5 separate regions of the Homo sapiens genome follow, and regions 1, 2, 3 and 5 are each linked to region 4. The links are contacts of gene promoters, found by promoter capture Hi-C in blood cells and fetal thymus (Javierre and others, 2016). All regions are on one chromosome and are shown on one strand. The core of a region is centred on a gene start or on the middle of the fragment in contact, and the rest is flanking DNA. Distances in the headings are between cores, read along the strand shown. Region 1 overlaps MAST4 (microtubule associated serine/threonine kinase family member 4). Region 2 overlaps LOC105379003 (a long non-coding RNA gene). Region 3 overlaps MAST4 (microtubule associated serine/threonine kinase family member 4). Region 4 holds the start of MAST4 (microtubule associated serine/threonine kinase family member 4). Region 5 overlaps LOC105379003 (a long non-coding RNA gene).

Region 1 (3,433 bases), core at 709-3,208, 170 kb before region 4:
TGCATCCTGGACAAGGTATCAAGTGAAGTGTGCTTCTACCCCTTGTCTCTGGGCTTCACCATGCCGTTTGCATTAGCCAATATAAAATTAGCAGATATGACACCAGCAGAACCTTGAAATGTGCCTGTACAGGAGAACTTGCCCTCTCATGCTCCTGTCTTTCATAAGGAGATGATGCCTTTGGTAGCTGCTGGTCTAAAGAAGAAGGTAGACACATAGAACAAATCTGGACCCAAACTGCAACCTGGAACCAAGCCCAGTAGGGCCCAGAGTGACCTACAGCCAAACCCCAACTAACCTATAGCCATCTGAACAAGAAAAAAATACTTCTTGTTGTCTACCATTGAGATGTTTGCAGTTATGCAACATTACTGTTGCTGACTGATACACCACCAAATGCCACAGAAAAACTCGGGTTCAAAAACTATCTCGTGGATTAAGCTGCAGTGTACAAAAAAGGCCATAGCATCCTTCACTTGCCCATTTTTAAAGGAAGCCTACTCAACCATCACTCCAATTTGAGAAAATTCCTTAGCAGAAAGTAATTGTTTTCCTCCTCCTCAGTAAAGACAGATGCTCCTCATCTTACAGTGGGGTTACATCCAGATAAACCCATCAGAAGTAAAAAATATCTTAAGTCAATAATGCATTTCATACCCCACTAAACTCATCATAAAGTTGAAAAGTCAAAAGCCAAACCATAGTAAGTGGGGGACCGTCTGTATACAATTATTTAATTACAAATACAGTAAGTCTTAGGTAGTATGAGACACTATGAGACCATTTAACAATGGGATTTCACATTAATATATTGTGAGTCTCTTTCAATATTAAAACATATTTTTTATAATATGACCTTTAATGTTTACAATTGTTTTCCATTTTATGTGCGTACCATAATATGTTTAAGCAGTATTCATTTGCCAGCTATTTAGATAATATGAAATTTTAATTATTATAAATGGTACTGCTTTATATATAACTAAGGTTAATTCTCTTGACATATGACTGTTTCCTTGTGATGAATTCTGAGAAGTCAAATTTCTGGGTCGACCAATGTGTGAATTTTAAGGTTTTAAATATGTACTAATTGCCTAGTTTTACTTTATTTTTACAATTAAACGACTGGGAGCCCTACAGATTGAGCCAACCACAAATTTTAACTGAGTGAACAATTTTCCCACCTAAGATTCACTCCAGTTAATACTGCTGGAATTAAGAGTTTATTTAAAACCTACTAGGTACTGACTATGCTAGGAACAGTGTAGCAGTTGTGAGCATGAACTCTGGAGCCATGATGCCTGGGTTCAAATCCTCGCCTTCTGTTGTGAGGACTGTGACCTCAAGGAAGTTACTCAACCTGCTTGTGCCTCAGTGTTCTCATGTGTAAAATGAGCTAACAGTGTCTCCCTCATAGACACACACAGATGTTATAAGGATTAAATAAGCCAGTAAATATAATTCCCTAAACACAATGCCTGCTACACAGTAAGCTTTTAATATTAGCTATCATTATAAGGGATAAATATATAAATTGATCACAGATCTTCCTTTCAAAAAGCTAAAAGTTTAGTGAACCTTATCAAGGATAATTGGTTGGCAAAACTGTCCAACCATAAACTAAAAATCTTTGTTTTAAGGAAAGCAGAATGCTGCCAAAGAAAAGATCCTTGGATTAAAACAAAGTAAAACAATGAGAAGGTGGTCAGTTGTTAAGTAACAGATTAGATCAGGCATGGGCCTCTGATGGAAAAACCAGTAAGACTTATTTTAAGTTTAGCAACAGGGTATGTCCCAAGATGAGATCACATGTGATTATTTGGTTACCTAAAACTAGTGGAAAACACATTTTTTAAAGATCAGGGAAGATGCTGTCTTCTCTGTGCTCCAACATCTGACACTAGCCTGACATGAACACAGTGCCTAACACCAAGTAGCAAGCCAGTCGATAAGGGTACCAAACTCATTTCCATGAGCCCATGCCACCCATCAACTCCAAATCCCCCCAAATTCAATTAGTTATGCACATAATACTAACAGCTGCCTGGGCTAGCTGCTTTGTGTATATTATTTCATTAAATCTTCAGCTAAACCATACAGAGGAACAATTAAAAATGTTTTTTTCATATTCTAATATAATTTTCAAGGAACTGTCTTCAAAAACAGGCTGACGTTCGATGGATTTTTTTTTTAGCTCTTCTAAGGACTATTAAACATTTAAAAAAATTATCTGACCAAAGACTTAGTTACCAAAAGTAATTGTGTAGCGAACTAATTGTCTAAGGATTGACTTGCTAGAGCTGTTAAAATTATGACAAGAGAATCAAGTCCGGCTATTTATTTTCAAAGCTAAAGGCCAAATTTCATGTTTGAGATCATATATCTGATCAACAGCCATACCCTTGCATTATTTTAAAGCTTTATGTAAACTGCTTTAGCAAAAATGGATAGAATAATTACTGCCCCTCCTATCTATCAAAAATAGTTGAATCAAGGTAAGTAAATTTCCTAAGTGAAATTAATAAATAAAAGGATGAGTCTTTTAACCTTTAAGATTTAATTTTCTTACCTACAAGAGAATAATCTTTGGGATCTCCTACTTTAAAAAGCAAATAGTCTGCATTTATGAAATGAAAGCAAAGAAAAATATCCTAACAAGCATTAGAAGAGCATCAGTAAACTCAAGGGAAAAGATTTGCCTTAAACTGCAGCAGTTTTTTTGATGAATTTCTCCCCCTTGGCCTGAGGTAGTTTGGCCTTTTGTTCCAGCAGAGTGGCACACAGGGTCAGATGTCCCAGACTCCACTAATCATGTGGCAGTAGCACTTCTGTTCCCAGAAATTTCATCTTCAAAACGTCAAAATCCATAGTTCTCCAAAAAAAAAAAAAATGAGTAATTCAACTTACTTTCCAGGCCATTTTTAAACTGGTAGACAAGACCATCATGTAGAAAGAAAACTCTGTTTGGGGATTTTAAGAAACAAAGTTCCGTGAAAATATTTATATCTAGAGGAAAAAGTACTCTGATGAAATAACAGAAATCCAGCTTTCAGTGGTATATAGTTAATAACATACAATTTTAAGTGGTGAGTTACCTTTTAAAAGCTAGGCTTTAACTTATCTTAATTTGGGTATTTTGCAGTCAAAAATAATTTGTGAGTTTTCTGGATTTGAAAATTTCTCAATTTTAACAATGAAATTTAAAAAGGGGTGAAAGAATTGAACCAATACTTCACGAGACACAAATAATTGTCCAATAAGCACTTGAAAAGGTGTTCTAGATTATCTAGTCACCAAGGAAACATAAATGAAACCCACAATGTGATACATCTATGTAACACTGAAAATGGCTAAAATTTTTAAAACTGGCAATACCACAGGTTAGCAAGAACGCACAGCAATTGGATCGTTCATCCATACCTGTCAGGAATGT
Region 2 (3,246 bases), core at 562-3,061, 220 kb after region 4:
TGGAACGAAAGTTCACAGTGAGAGTCTCCACACACTGTTCTGTCCTTCAAAGTGGGAGAGGCATGCTGGCACTGCTTCCTATTTGTCATCCTGGAAAAAAACATTTTTTGCATTTCTGTGCTGTGTATTGGTGATTTCTCTGTTTAAAATGGTCCTCAAATGTAGTGCTGTTTTCCTGAGTGTAGCAAGCCTGTGATGTGCCTTAAGGAGAAAATACAGTGTTAGATAAGCTTCCTTCAGGCATGAGTTAGTGCTATTGGCCATGAGTTCAATGTTAATGAATCAACTATATATTAAATATCTTTAAATAGACATACACCTAAAACAAAGTTATGTACTCATTGATTGACAAAAATATTATGACCAGAGATGCTCAGGAATTCAACACTGTATTTCCCCTTGTTTAGTACCCACTAATTTGGTGTTCATCATGACTTTATAGGACATAATTCCCATGAATAATGAGTATCAGCTATACTTTCATTTATTTTGAGAGCTATCTTCTAAAAAGGACATTAAAATAAAAAAAGCTGTCTTCTTGTCTCCAGATATAATTAGTTGCATACTTCAAAGAAATCAAAACAAAAACAATACTCTCATGTAAATACCCACTTGGTCTTACATAAAACAATCTTTTGTTCTAAGCAAAACATTTTAGGAATGCAATAACTAATTGGTGGAGGGACACATGTTAGTGAGACTCTTAGTCACAGTCAATATTTATTGAATGGCTCCTGAGCTCCTCCTATGAGTAACTCTAGCTAAGGCACATTTTGCAGTAAATGGATAAAAACTCTGAAAGAATAATTAAGATTCCAGAGAGTAAACTAAGATTCATATGTGTTCATGAGTCTTTGAATGAAAATATTGAGCAAGAAAGAAAGGCACAATCATAAAATTATTCATATAATGAAGGCCAAGGGAAAACAGGACTCAACATGAATACAGTCTTTGAGAATGCATCTATTGTATGAGGAGATTCAAATGCATGTTGTCTTGTTAGGGCACAGGGTATCCCCAGAAAGCTTTGAGCCCCAGAGAGGTGATGTTAGATATGTGGAAGAGGACAGGCAGTATCATCTGTAAAAGGTCAGTCGCTACCATCAGCCAGACCAGTGTCTGGGTCCTAGATCCACTTTACTGGCTCAGTGACATGGCAAAAGACACCCTTTGCATGGGCCCCAGTTTCTTCATTTATAAAATGGGAGTAATAAGAGTAATAATACAAATATAAAAAGACATTTTATGAGTGCTGACTAGGCGCCAGGCACTCTGCTGGGAGCTTTTCATGCATTACCTCATTTAATTTTCCCAACTGTCCAGGTGACTGCTATCACTAGCCCCACCTTATACAGGTGAAAAGAAAGTCAGAGAAGTTAAACAATCTTGCCAAGAATTAGGGCTGGCAGAGTCAAAACTTGATCCCAGGTGTCTGACTCTATCTAATCATGTTGTTTGTGAAAGTTAAATGAGATAATGTATATAAAATGCTTAGCACAATGCCAGGAATATAATAAGCACATATTATACATGTAATAAAAGATCCTTATTTATTTATTTATTTATTTATTTTTGAGACAGTCTTGCCCTGTCGCCCAGGCTAGAGTGCAGTGGCGCAATCTCGGCTCACTGCAACCTCCGCCTCCTGGGTTCAAGCAATTCTCCTGCCTCAGCCTCCCAAGTAGCTGGGATTACAGGCACCCGCCACCATGCCCAGCTAATTTTTGTATTTTAGTAGAGACGTTTCACCATGTTGGCCAGGCTGGTCTCGAACTTCTGATCTCAAGTGATCCGCCAGCCTCAGCCTCCCAAACTTCTGGGATTATAGGTGTGAGCCACCGTGCCTAGCCAAAACATCCTTTTAAATAAGAATGTCCAACCATATTTCCATTCTCACAACAACCAACAGATCAACAAGAGTTACCAACGGCTGTGTAGAAGGTTTGTGTGGAGACAATATACTGAATTCTCCTGCAGCTGAAAGCACCACAGGGAAGAGTCCTTTCTACCTCACCAGGAAACGCATTCCAAATAGCCCCCTGGAGAAATTTCTATCTATCCTCATGAATGGATGTAAATTGGGAAATCAGACCCAAGATTTGCTTTTAAAATCTCTCCCGGCTGGGCGCAGTGGCTCATGCCTGTAATCCCAGCACTTTGGATGGCAGAGATGGGCAGATCACCTGAGGTCAGGAGTTCAAGACCAGCCTGGCCAACATGGTGAAACCCCATCTCTACTAAAAATACAAAAAAAATTAGCCAGGCATGGTGGCACGTGCCTGCAATCCCAGCTATTCGGGAGGCTGAGGCAAGAGAATCGCTTGAACCCAGGAGTTGGAAGTTGCAGTGAGCAGAGTTCACGCCACTACACTAAAGCCTGGGTGACAGAGCGGGACTGCATCTAAAAAAAAAAAAAAAAACCTCTCCTGTAGAGGTTAAAACTTCAGATGGCTTATCTCAGCCCTTCTTAAATCTATTTGTTTAATCAATCTGATATCGTTAACTTGTTTTTTGTCCCAGTTTCAGATATAACTATATTGTTTTCATGAAAAACATTTTAGGTACAGAGTGAAGCCAGCTGTATAAGCCAAGCTTCTGACATGCTAAAACAGAACACATTTTGGTATCTAAAGGTTTTCATCCCCTCTTGTAGGAAAGGGAACTAGAGAGAAAACAAAGCTCTCTAGAGTACCATATTTACTTACATAGTCTTCTTTCGCATTTAATACCTGTTTCATCAAGCTATCACAGTCAAGTTTCTCCTAGTCTAGCATTTTAAGCTTGGACGAGCGTAGTTATGAGCAGGGATTACTGATTGTCCTTTTATCTTCTGCAAACAAGAGGACGGCTGGCCCTCACTAGGCCTCCAGGGGTTCCTGGCAACTCCAGCCACTCATGAGGTGGAAGAATACACGGAAAAAGTTAAAACAAATGAAGATATTTCCTCCTCAACATTTGGAAACCTTCTGCTGGCCGAGAATGCCTGAACTTGAACAGTAAGCCCTGAGAGTGAGTCCAAAAGAACACCCTGTGGCATTAACAAGACTGGACAGATAACATGTATGCTAATACGGAACAATTGCTAGCATACACTGTTAAGTGAGAAAACTCAACCATATATATACAGTACTACTATTTGAACATCTATAGAGTTGTACATCTATAGACTCTTTGTCCAGAAGAATACACACAAAACTAGCAAGAGTGGTTACCTCAGGGGAAGGGGCTAAGTGTAGGGGTAGACTT
Region 3 (3,304 bases), core at 548-3,047, 190 kb before region 4:
AAAGTAATAGCTAAAATACATTGAGGCCTTATTATATACCAGGTACTGCAACATCCTAACAATCGTATGGGATAGGTATGATTATCTCCAGTCTAAACCCAGAGAGGTACATAACTAGGCAAGAGGATACAGCTACACAAATGGGCAAAAATCAAGATTCTGACTCGAAAGCCCCATCTACCCCAGGAAAATATTCATCACATATGTTTAGGTGAAGAACAAGTTATAAATTAAGACAGAATGATTCTATATTTATACAAAAATCACAAAATAACATATATTATTTATAAAGAGAAAAGCACCTGGAAAGATGGGAGCAGAGTGATTCAAACCACAGGCTTGGCATCAGGCACAAATGGGTCTGCAACCTAGCGTTTTTTGTTTTGTTTTGTTTTTTGAGACAGGGTCTCACTCTGTCACTCAGGCTGGAGTACAATGGCGCAATCTCAGCTCACTGCAACCTCTGCCTCCCAGGTTCAAGCGATTCTCCTGCCTCAGCCTCCCAAGTAGCTGGGATTACAGGCACGCACCACCACGCCCAGCTAATTTTTGTTTTTAGTAGAGACGGGGTTTTACCATGTTGTACAATGGCACAATCTCGGCTCACTGCAACCTCTGCCTCCTGGCCTCAAGTGATCCACCCGCCTAAGCCTCCCAAAGTGTTGGGATTACAGGCATGAGCCGCTATGCTCAATCTGCAACCCAGTTTTTACAGTCACATGCAGTTGAGCAACTTATTTAGTTCCAAGCCCCCAATATTCCCATCTCTAAAAGGGGGATAATACCTTACAAAGTGGCAGATAAGATGAAAGGAGATAATACACTTAGTCACTCCACCTAGGACATGGAAAAGCAGTCAATGTACTGTCACACTTCATATTATCGTAAGACCTGCATCCTCCACCACCACCACAGCAACAGAATAAAACACGGTAACTGGGTTCTTAGGCCGGGTCACACACACACAAAAGAATAATATTGAAAGATATTGAAACAATTAATATTTCTTCTTGTAAGTGATAAACAGCAAATTCAGAATTGTAGTCATCTCTGGCAGAAAAAATGAGGGGTGGGTGCAGGGAGGAGTATGGTAGATCTGTCATATTTTATTATTTTAAAAATTACCAGCAGGGAATAACAGGGTTTGCTACTTCAACTTAGAAGTGTAAATGAAGAATTAAGTTTTTGACTTGTGGCTTTAACAAATTTAATAAGAAATTTTTTAATGTATCCGGAGAATGTAGCAAATATTAAGCTTTGATAAAGCTGGCTGATAGGTATATGGGGTTGTATAGAATTATTCTCTATTAATTTCTGTACATATTTTATAATATTACTTTTAATAATTCCTAGCAAAAAATGTGTTTTGTATTCTTGCATGGCAAACTGGCCAGGAGCACATTCCCTCAACTCCTCAAGATGGTAGTTCCTATGGCCCAGGTCAGGGACCCCAGAGGTCTGGGTGATCGTGGAGGACTCCTACGTCCTAGGTTGAAAAGCAAGGAGCCAGGGGAGAGATTTGATGGGGAATGGGAGCAAAGAGGTACCACAAGGAATCTCAACATCAAAGTCAAGGCAACAGGGACTGGGAAAGGCTCCCTGCCAGTGGGAGGGCAGAACAAAGCAGGCATAACTCCCAGGTAAGGCCTCAGTACAGGAAATTCATAAGCTAGGACCCTGGCTCAATGAGACCAAGCATGGTTCAATAAGAAGTTGGACTCTGAACAGAATCCAGAACCAGCACCCATTGCTGGGGAACACAAAGAAAGGAACACCTGAGCCATGCCCTTTCTCTCCCCACACTCTGAGCCACGCTTTCAATACTGCAGTTTTGTTACGTCTCACAGGATATTGTAAAGCAAGCAGAGACCACTGAGAACAAGCATGCATGCCATCTCATCCTTCTCTGAAATCACTCAATTTAACATGATTATGTACATTTTATTTGTGGCCATCTCGTGAAAGTCCAATCTTGGTAACAAGACCAAAGGTGTGCCCTCAATTCCTTTGTTACCTCAACAGCCTAACGCAAAAGACAAGGCTTTGACATCCAGTAACTGATCTGTCCTTAGCCCATATTCTTATATAACACCTTCTTTAAGCCCAACAGGATAGAGAGATCCTTGCCAGTAATGGTAAAAATTAATTGCTCTAGTTGTGGTTGACTTTAATGTCAGACTGCTGAGTTCCTATTCTAAATTCCCAAACTGATTCCATCACTTATAACATGAACTTCTCCAAACCTCAAGTTCCTGAGTAGAACAGGGCCAAACTTGTAGGGCTGTTGTAAAATCTAAAAATAGAAAATATAGAATGAACACTCAATAAATATAAGCTTAAAAAATAAGAAACACCAAGAGCTACCCAACACACATTAAATTATAAAGTGAGCAGAAATAAAATTTTGTTAAACCACTGGAAAAAATTAGGAAGCACTTACATACATATACAATGAAATGCCTATAATGCAATGATGGGTTAGATTTTAGATGTCGTTATTTGCGTAGGTCTTGTCCTGAGGAATCATATGAATGTTATAAATTGGAGGGTCTGTTAATACAACACATGGGATATTTTATTCCTGCCTAGACCCCCATTAGTGTTAATAGAGAAAAGAGGACAACAGATGGATTTAAGACAGTCATTAGAAGGCACTAACATGATACACAGTTGATAGTGATTACATCAAACTTTATATAAATTCACTTTTTGATGACTATCAAGAGCCTCTAAAAAGTGTGTTGCTGTCGTATTCATGCATCATTTGCTGCCTACAATTTAAGAAAATTAGCATCTGTCAATGGCATTATTCAGCTACACAGGGTGGAAATTAATGGATAATACCATTTCTAATTTGTTGTATGAGAGGTGAGCTTGCCTAGCAATCTGGCTGCTCTATTTTAATACCAAATTGAGCTTGTTGTTACAATTGAAACTGGATTAGCTCTGTGTTCTTTGGAAAAATGTTTCCAAAATTCTACTATGCTTATTGAAACATGTATCAAATGTTTTCTACTGGCATGACTAGAAATTTAGAGGCAATAAATAAAGGTCTGTATTAAAGCTGGAATCAGTTGGACGGATTGATACAAGAGCGTGTCAGGTCTCAACCATAGAGGTGTGGGTTGTTTGAATGGACTTCTTGTACTGGTTATTTTTGCTGTTTTAGCCAAAGGGCCTCTAGTTAACAGAGTTAGAGTGGAAAGTTCTGTAGCCTTGTATGGTTATATGTACATTAAAATAAATACATTATTGAATCTAGACCCAGATCATGCCTTGGTTCTATCAAGGCTATATATGACCT
Region 4 (3,241 bases), core at 600-3,099:
AATTAGGGAATGGGTCATGGTTACTGCAAGTGGCTTGGCCAAGAACCAGCTAAGCAGCTAAGGCTTGTTCCATCTCTGCCAAGCTAGGACTCGCCTCCTCTCAACCTTGTGCCACATCCAGTTTTTGCTTCCAGGCTGGGGGCCTCTGATTGCTTACTCTAAGGGACAAAGGCAATTATTTACTAAAGCTAACCCCATCCAAGATGAGGAAAATACAACACTGGCACTCAGGAATTAATTTCACAATAAGTCTATGTTAAGGTGATGTTTTATTTGTGGCCCTGCCTGATCAAGATGACTTCCCCACAAGAAACGTCCAAAGCAAACAATCTTTTTTTTTTTTAAACTGAGTCTGGCTCTGAGACGTGAAGAATTGTACACTTCTTTAACTGTCCTCCAAAAGCAGAAAATAAGCCGGACAGAGCAGCCAGAAGGACACCAGAGTCCTATGCTCAGTGTGTCAGGAAGCGACCCACAAGTTCTGGAGGAACATCCTTCCAGGAAACTGGGCAGATACAGATCCCCCACCCCGCTCCGCCCCGCAAAAGGTAAGACGATCTGTACTCGGTTTGGTGACAAGCGTTCATCTGGACAAGCTGGAAACAAGTCTGAACGGGAGCTGCAGGCGCGCACGCCAGCGCCACCGAGGGAGCGCGGGGAGTCCTCTTCTCCCAGAGGACCGACGCTGCGGGGACGCGCCAAAACCACCCGCGGGCGATCCCAGGGGGCTGGCGCCACTGAAACCTCCGCAGGCAACTCCGCGGCTACCGCTGCCCCCCACCCTACTCCTGCCTCTTACCCCCAAGGCACCATTTCTCCCCCTCAACTCCCTGCCCCTCGGCCCAAGCGCTTCGGTGGGAAACAACGCCCACTTTGGAGAATCAGAGGTGAGTTGTGGGGACACGCCAGATGTCCAGATCGCATCCTTTCACAGATCAACCAAGTCAGATACAAACACGAAGGAGTTTGCTTCTCTGACATTTTAAAAACACACCATCAGGCAGCACACTGAGACACACACACGGGGGTAACAGCCACAGGGAAGTCAATAACCCACAGGGGGGCTCCTAACTATCGTTGTCCCGTGCTCGGGGCAGAGCGCTTGGGGTCCCTCCCTATCTCCAGGCCACAGCGCTCTCCTGCCCACTGCCTGTGCGCAGGATGGGAAACTACGGTCGCCCGGCTGCCGGAACCCAGAGTGGGCAAGCTGGGGAAAGGCCCACCTCCTCGTCCTGCTCCTCCTGGGACGCGCTGCTGCCCCGGGGCGCGGGCGGCACAGCTCCTCCGGGAAGCGGCGGCGGCAGCGCAAGGACTCCGCGCTCCAGCAGCACGCTTGCCGGAGCCCACGCGGCGGGCGCCCGGGCGCCCAGGGTGCCTCCCAACGGCGGCGGCGGCGGCGGCTGATGCTCTCTGGAGAAGCCGCCGGGCTCCCCTTCCTCCGACAGAGTTTCTGAGCCCGAGGAGGACTCGGCCGAGGAAGCACCCGGAGAGGACGCGGCGACCAGCGCAGAGGCTGGAGTCCGGCTGCCGTGGCCACTGCAGCCGCGGGGCACCGGCTCTGGCGCCTCCGAAACTTTCTCCCCCATTTCCCTGTCTGGCCCAAAGTGCCTCCCGAGCGGCGGGGGCGCGGCGCGCACTCAGCGCCTCCCGGGGAAGACGCGGGCTCCTGGGCTCAGGCTCACTGGCACTGCCGCTCCCGGGCTGCAGGGAGCCCCGCCAGCGACTACATGGCAGTGACGGGGCCGCAGGAGCCCGCTGCTAAGTTCACAGCCGCCCGGGCCCGGCCGCAAACGGAGGCTCCCGCGCGCGGGGACATGCCCGCTCGGGTCCGCGATCTGCGCTCCACTGTGCTCCCGCGCTGCACCCGAGCCGCGGGTACTGCGGCTTCTCCTTGCAAAACCTGCCTCCGGGACGGAGCAAGGAGACGGGCAGCCCGCAGAGCCAATGGCAGGGCAGGCGCGCTGGTGGGCGGAGGCTGCGACGCCTCCGGCCATGAGGGCCTCAGGTAGGGGAGGCGGGGCCCGGGCGCGGGCCGTGGTCCCGCTGGAGCGCCTGGGCGCAGGGGACAGGGACCAGGCGGGGGTCCCCGGAGGGTGGGGGCGGAGCCCAGAATCGGAGCCAAGGGCTGAGACTCCGAACTTAGCGGGGGAGTGGCTGACCGTCCTTGGGACGTCAGAGGGAGACGGCGAGCGGATGGTGAGACCTTGGAGAAGAACTGGACTTTGTCTCCAAAAAGTGGAATCAAGAAAACGGACAAGAAGGAGGGCTCTATAGGGAAAAAAGGAACCACACACACACAGTCACCCACGCACACGGACTCACCAGCGTGTTGGAGGAAAAGGACAGAAACTTCGTGGTATAGTGAGCGGACCCAAAGGGGAGTGACCTCTAATCTCTGCTTTTCCGTTTAAGCTCTTTGGGCCTCAGTTTCCTCAACTGTAAATGGCTACATTACTACTGGTCTTGGCAGGCTTAGAGCAAATATATATAATGCATCAGCAAAGTGCCTGGCTTGGATACACGGAGCGTTTTTAAAAGACTATTTCCTGTCTTTATTTCTGTTTGTAAACTAAAAAGTTAAGTCTGAGACTTGAACCTTTTGATAGGGAGGAAGATAAAAAAGTATGTCCTTGTATTTAATTAGGACCAAGCTCTGTAGTCCTACTCAAATTGTCTGTCTCGGTATGATCAGCTAAGCAGAGGATGAAAAGGATTCACTTTCCAATGTACATTCTCCTAGCCCTGGGTTGTAAACCAACAGGATACAGGACAGGTTGCTTCATTTTCCTTACCTCTAAGAACTAGGAGAAAGAACTTTCACTAAAGGTACCAATAGAGTACCCTTAAGTCCTTCCCTGGGGCTGGAGGATGCTGCCTGTCCGGTGACTGGAATTTCCTTGGAAGCCAGCACTCAGCTCAGCAGTGGGAAATAAATGATTCCTCTCTTGCCTTCAGCTCTAGTCCCATTCTGAGCTCTGGCACAGTGACCTGGGATGTAAATTCAACCGCCTCAGTTCCATGTACGTTGATGGAGATGTGTGCCAGGTGCAGGGGATACAAAGATTAATAAGTCAGGTCCCCTGCCCTTGAGCAGCTTATGGTCAAGCGAGAGATTGATACTGCATAATATAGCTCCCTTATCCATTTTAGAAGCTGTGATAAGTGATACAGGAAAAATGTGTGAGGGAGAAGAGGAAAGAGTTACAGAAAAACAGTAGCAGGTCCTTGAGCATCTTAGATT
Region 5 (3,361 bases), core at 220-2,719, 250 kb after region 4:
ATCCCTACCTTATAGAATTCTAATAAGATGAAATGAAGCAACATATACAAAATACTTAGCACAGATCCTAACACCTACAAAATAATAAATGGTAACGATTATTATTCTTCTCAAACAACAATCCTATTATTTATCAAATAATACTGAGTAATATGACAAGACATATTTAAACCACACAAGCCATATGCAGACAAGTGTTTAATATCATAGTGATAGTTTCAAGAGAGAGATAATAATTTATTCTACATTTATCAGAGGTCTATAGCCCAGTAGTCAATAAATACTTATCTATAGTCAATAAGTACTATCAAGCATCCATGCCAGGAACCATGCTAGGGGCTGATTAATTTACATCAATCACCATGACTTTTTTCCCACAAACTAACACACACACAATCTTCATAGATTTTTCTGTGATCACAGCAAGGAAAAGACCTACGCATGTTTGGATCATCTGTGTACAGTCCTACAGAAGAACTTTGACACTATCAGAGACAGAAATCTCAGAATAGTCCAACTCTCACTTATTTGTGCTAATGAAAGAGTAAAGTAAAAGAGACAATTAAAATGGGAAATGTGTTTTGTTTTGTTTTGGTGTTTTGTTTTACAAGTATGCAAAAACCTCAAATCAACCTGACCCAACAATAAGGAAGCAAGTCAGAAAAAGGCAGTCTTCCAGAGCTGTTTGTTCAGCAGCTCAGTAATGCCATGAAGGTTTGCTTCCTTTCTCTGCTTTGTGTTTCTGGAGAGAGTCCGCATACATTTCAATATGGCTGACAGCAGTTCTGGAATGTATAAAGCCTTGCATAAAGAAAATGACAGTTCACTATGAAAATCTGATTCGGATGATGTTGAAAATAGATTTAGTGTCTGCTCTGCCTCTCTGTTTTCTAGGACTTCACCACCTCACAGACTTTGTACACTCATGGTTCACAACTTCCTCACTGTGTTTTCTTTAACGAGTAGAAGATAAATAAGCTTTAAGAAATAGTAAATTATATCAAAATAGACTTTATCATATAATTTGCCTAATTATGTACCTTCAGTAAGTGTTTATTGAACTCTGGGGTGTCAACAATTTTTTATTCAGCTCTCATAAGTAATATTTGCTTAGAAATCTACCCATAAATAGGATAACAACTTTCATAAAACAAGAATTTATACCTAGCTAACATGAAAAAGCTAAACATCCCTTGAAGTACAATTCTCCTGAAAATCATCCCAATATGGTTTATTGAGGCTGATGGATTTGGACACCAGCTCTTAAGAAAAAAGATAAAGAGGAAAGCTACTGCCTGCCACAACATATTCTTTTTCCCAAGAGCTGGTAAGTTTCTTCCATATGTGGAATCCAATAACGTTCGGAACATTCTTTTCTCTTTCTGGTAATGTGATATACCCAACGTGGGCCTATGATACAAGGAAGGAGAGTAGATCAGGAGTCAAAAACCACAGGTCCTAGTTCTGGTTCTATCATTTCTTTGCTGTGAAAGTCTGGACCAGTGACTTCATAGCTCTGAGTTTCTGTTGTGTCATTCTTCAAGTCAGGTCATCATTTGCCTTCCCTACTTCACAGGTAGTATACAGTAATCTTTTCAAAAGCCCTTTAGAGGACATAACACAACCTTATGTTTATTTTCTGCTAGAGCATGACTCCCTTGAGGGCTTGGAGCATGTCTTAATCAAATTTGTATATTCCACCATTCCTACCCCAGACCTATTATTAGGTGCTCAATAAATGTTGATTTTAAATGACAGCTGTCATGAAATAAATGAAAACAGAAGCCAACAGTGACGGTTTGAGCTGCCTGCTGGCTGGCATGTGACACTTAACATCTAAAGAGTGATAGTGGCAGCTAAAGTGCGGAAGGAATCCACTTTATGAAACTATCTGAGCAGTGAAGCACTGGAAATCACAGAGTCTCCTTTTGGCTATTTTACATTTAGATATGAAAGCTTGTCAGGCTGGGCTGAGAATAGACAATGAGAAACTAACACATTTCAACAGGTTTTGAATAGTTTCCCAGTGAAGAATTTTCCTGGCCTCTCTCCACCCTGGTTTTTATCCCTCTTCTTGGGAGTTATTTTTCGCAAATGTACCCCATGATTGGCAAATTTCAGAAGAATAACTGGGGTTGGCTCAGTTCAGCTCCTCCCCGTCCTTCTCCTGAGTCTGCTTCCAAAGGCAATCTGCAAGGGAGGAATAAAGCAACTCAGGGAAGGGAAAAAGAGATGTGAAGAAGGAAAGAAATTGGAAGACCCAAAACAACATGATGGTTAGTAGAGCTAATGAAAATGAGGAAGCTCCAATAATATCTGGTTTTTTTTCTCTGACTTTGTGAAAACCATTTGTTATTATGATACGACAATGTAATCAATGGTACTCAGTAAAGTCAGTACCCCAAAATTCGGCCAGGTGTCATGGCTTTTTGTGTATGGTTGTCCTGGGAATTAAAGGAGAAGGAAGGGGCTGTGCCCCTGTAGGGGAGATGATGTGCAGAAACGGACGGTATACACAGGAGGAAAGACAATGAGAAAAGATAAAGAAAGAATTCACTAAAAGCAGGGACTTGGAGCTAGAGAAGCAACAAAAGACATCCATAATTCTTGGAGATATTAGGGGAATACTAGGCTTCCCAAGAAAAAGATTCAAGCCATTCTATTGCACTGTCAGCTGGAAGGTGGTCCCAAAAGGCTGGGGAAATTGGAGGCACTCAGGAAGCTGCTGTCTTGGTTACAGGCATTCATGTATGGATGAGGCTGGAGAAGGTAAAAGACAGAGGAAGAGAGTAGGGAGGCAGGTACAGAAAAGAGACTCATTATTACCTTTCTCTATTGCAGGCTTCAGAAGGTGAACCCAGAGAGCAGGCTGTTTCTGTCCATGGGAAAGCAGGATGGTACAGCCCATATCTGATTCAGAAACCAACAGTCAAACCATTCTCCCCTGAGACTAAAGCAGAGAATGAAGCCATTTCCCAGAAATTTGGGTATTTAAAAAATCACCCTGGCCTGGGTTACAGGGTAATTGTCCCATATCTATGTTTCACCTGCAGATTCATGGGACAGAATTATTTCCCAAATCTAGCTCCATGCTCCTGCCCTGACTTAAGTCAGGGAATACTTGGTATGTAGTAGCATTTATTATTTCACGTTCAAAATATCTCAAAGCCTTGAAAACTGTAACGTATTAAACGGAAATTTGGTAGGCATTGCTTCGCACAATCCCATGATGCCAGCTTGCTAGCATGGATATGCCCAGGGCACCCTACCAGATGCTGGACACAAAAGCTCAACATGGTAGTTCTTCCCTGCAAGGGTTCACAGCCCAGTGGAGGAGATCGTCAGGTGAGTAAATCATCCT

Evidence for each region. Contacts are between HindIII fragments. The CHiCAGO score rates a contact against its expected background, and 5 or more counts as called.
Region 1: a fragment that was not itself captured here is called in contact with the fragment with the promoter of MAST4 in region 4 in 3 of 17 cell types (M2 macrophages, M1 macrophages and M0 macrophages); the score reaches 6.3 in M2 macrophages.
Region 2: a fragment that was not itself captured here is called in contact with the fragment with the promoter of MAST4 in region 4 in 2 of 17 cell types (naive B cells and total B cells); the score reaches 6.3 in naive B cells.
Region 3: a contact is called between a fragment that was not itself captured here and the fragment with the promoter of MAST4 in region 4, in 2 of 17 cell types (megakaryocytes and M2 macrophages). The highest score is 5.6, in megakaryocytes.
Region 5: a contact is called between a fragment that was not itself captured here and the fragment with the promoter of MAST4 in region 4, in 2 of 17 cell types (endothelial precursors and M0 macrophages). The highest score is 6.3, in endothelial precursors.

Annotation. Positions count from the first base shown.
Region 1 is chr5:66,761,019-66,764,451 of GRCh38, reverse strand. All of the region lies in intron 2 of MAST4 (microtubule associated serine/threonine kinase family member 4), which reads right to left. Among named protein-coding and RNA genes, the nearest start is that of MAST4, 170 kb to the right of the region's middle. The HindIII fragment of the contact is 925 bases long and covers 1,496-2,420 here.
Region 2 is chr5:66,375,409-66,378,654 of GRCh38, reverse strand. All of the region lies in intron 1 of LOC105379003 (a long non-coding RNA gene), which reads left to right. Among named protein-coding and RNA genes, the nearest start is that of LINC02229, 130 kb to the left of the region's middle. The HindIII fragment of the contact is 1,567 bases long and covers 1,028-2,594 here.
Region 3 is chr5:66,782,324-66,785,627 of GRCh38, reverse strand. All of the region lies in intron 2 of MAST4 (microtubule associated serine/threonine kinase family member 4), which reads right to left. Among named protein-coding and RNA genes, the nearest start is that of MAST4, 190 kb to the right of the region's middle. The HindIII fragment of the contact is 1,080 bases long and covers 1,258-2,337 here.
Region 4 is chr5:66,595,001-66,598,241 of GRCh38, reverse strand. MAST4 (microtubule associated serine/threonine kinase family member 4) reads right to left here and starts at 1,849. Exons shown (of 29, transcript NM_001164664.2): 1 at 1,224-1,849. The coding sequence starts at 1,586. RefSeq lists silencers at 1,104-1,253, 1,264-1,403, 2,014-2,213. The HindIII fragment of the contact is 7,618 bases long and covers 1-3,241 here.
Region 5 is chr5:66,347,362-66,350,722 of GRCh38, reverse strand. It overlaps LOC105379003 (a long non-coding RNA gene), which reads left to right. Exons shown (of 3, transcript XR_948380.3): 2 at 1-1,327; 3 at 2,842-3,292. Among named protein-coding and RNA genes, the nearest start is that of LINC02065, 140 kb to the right of the region's middle. The HindIII fragment of the contact is 978 bases long and covers 981-1,958 here.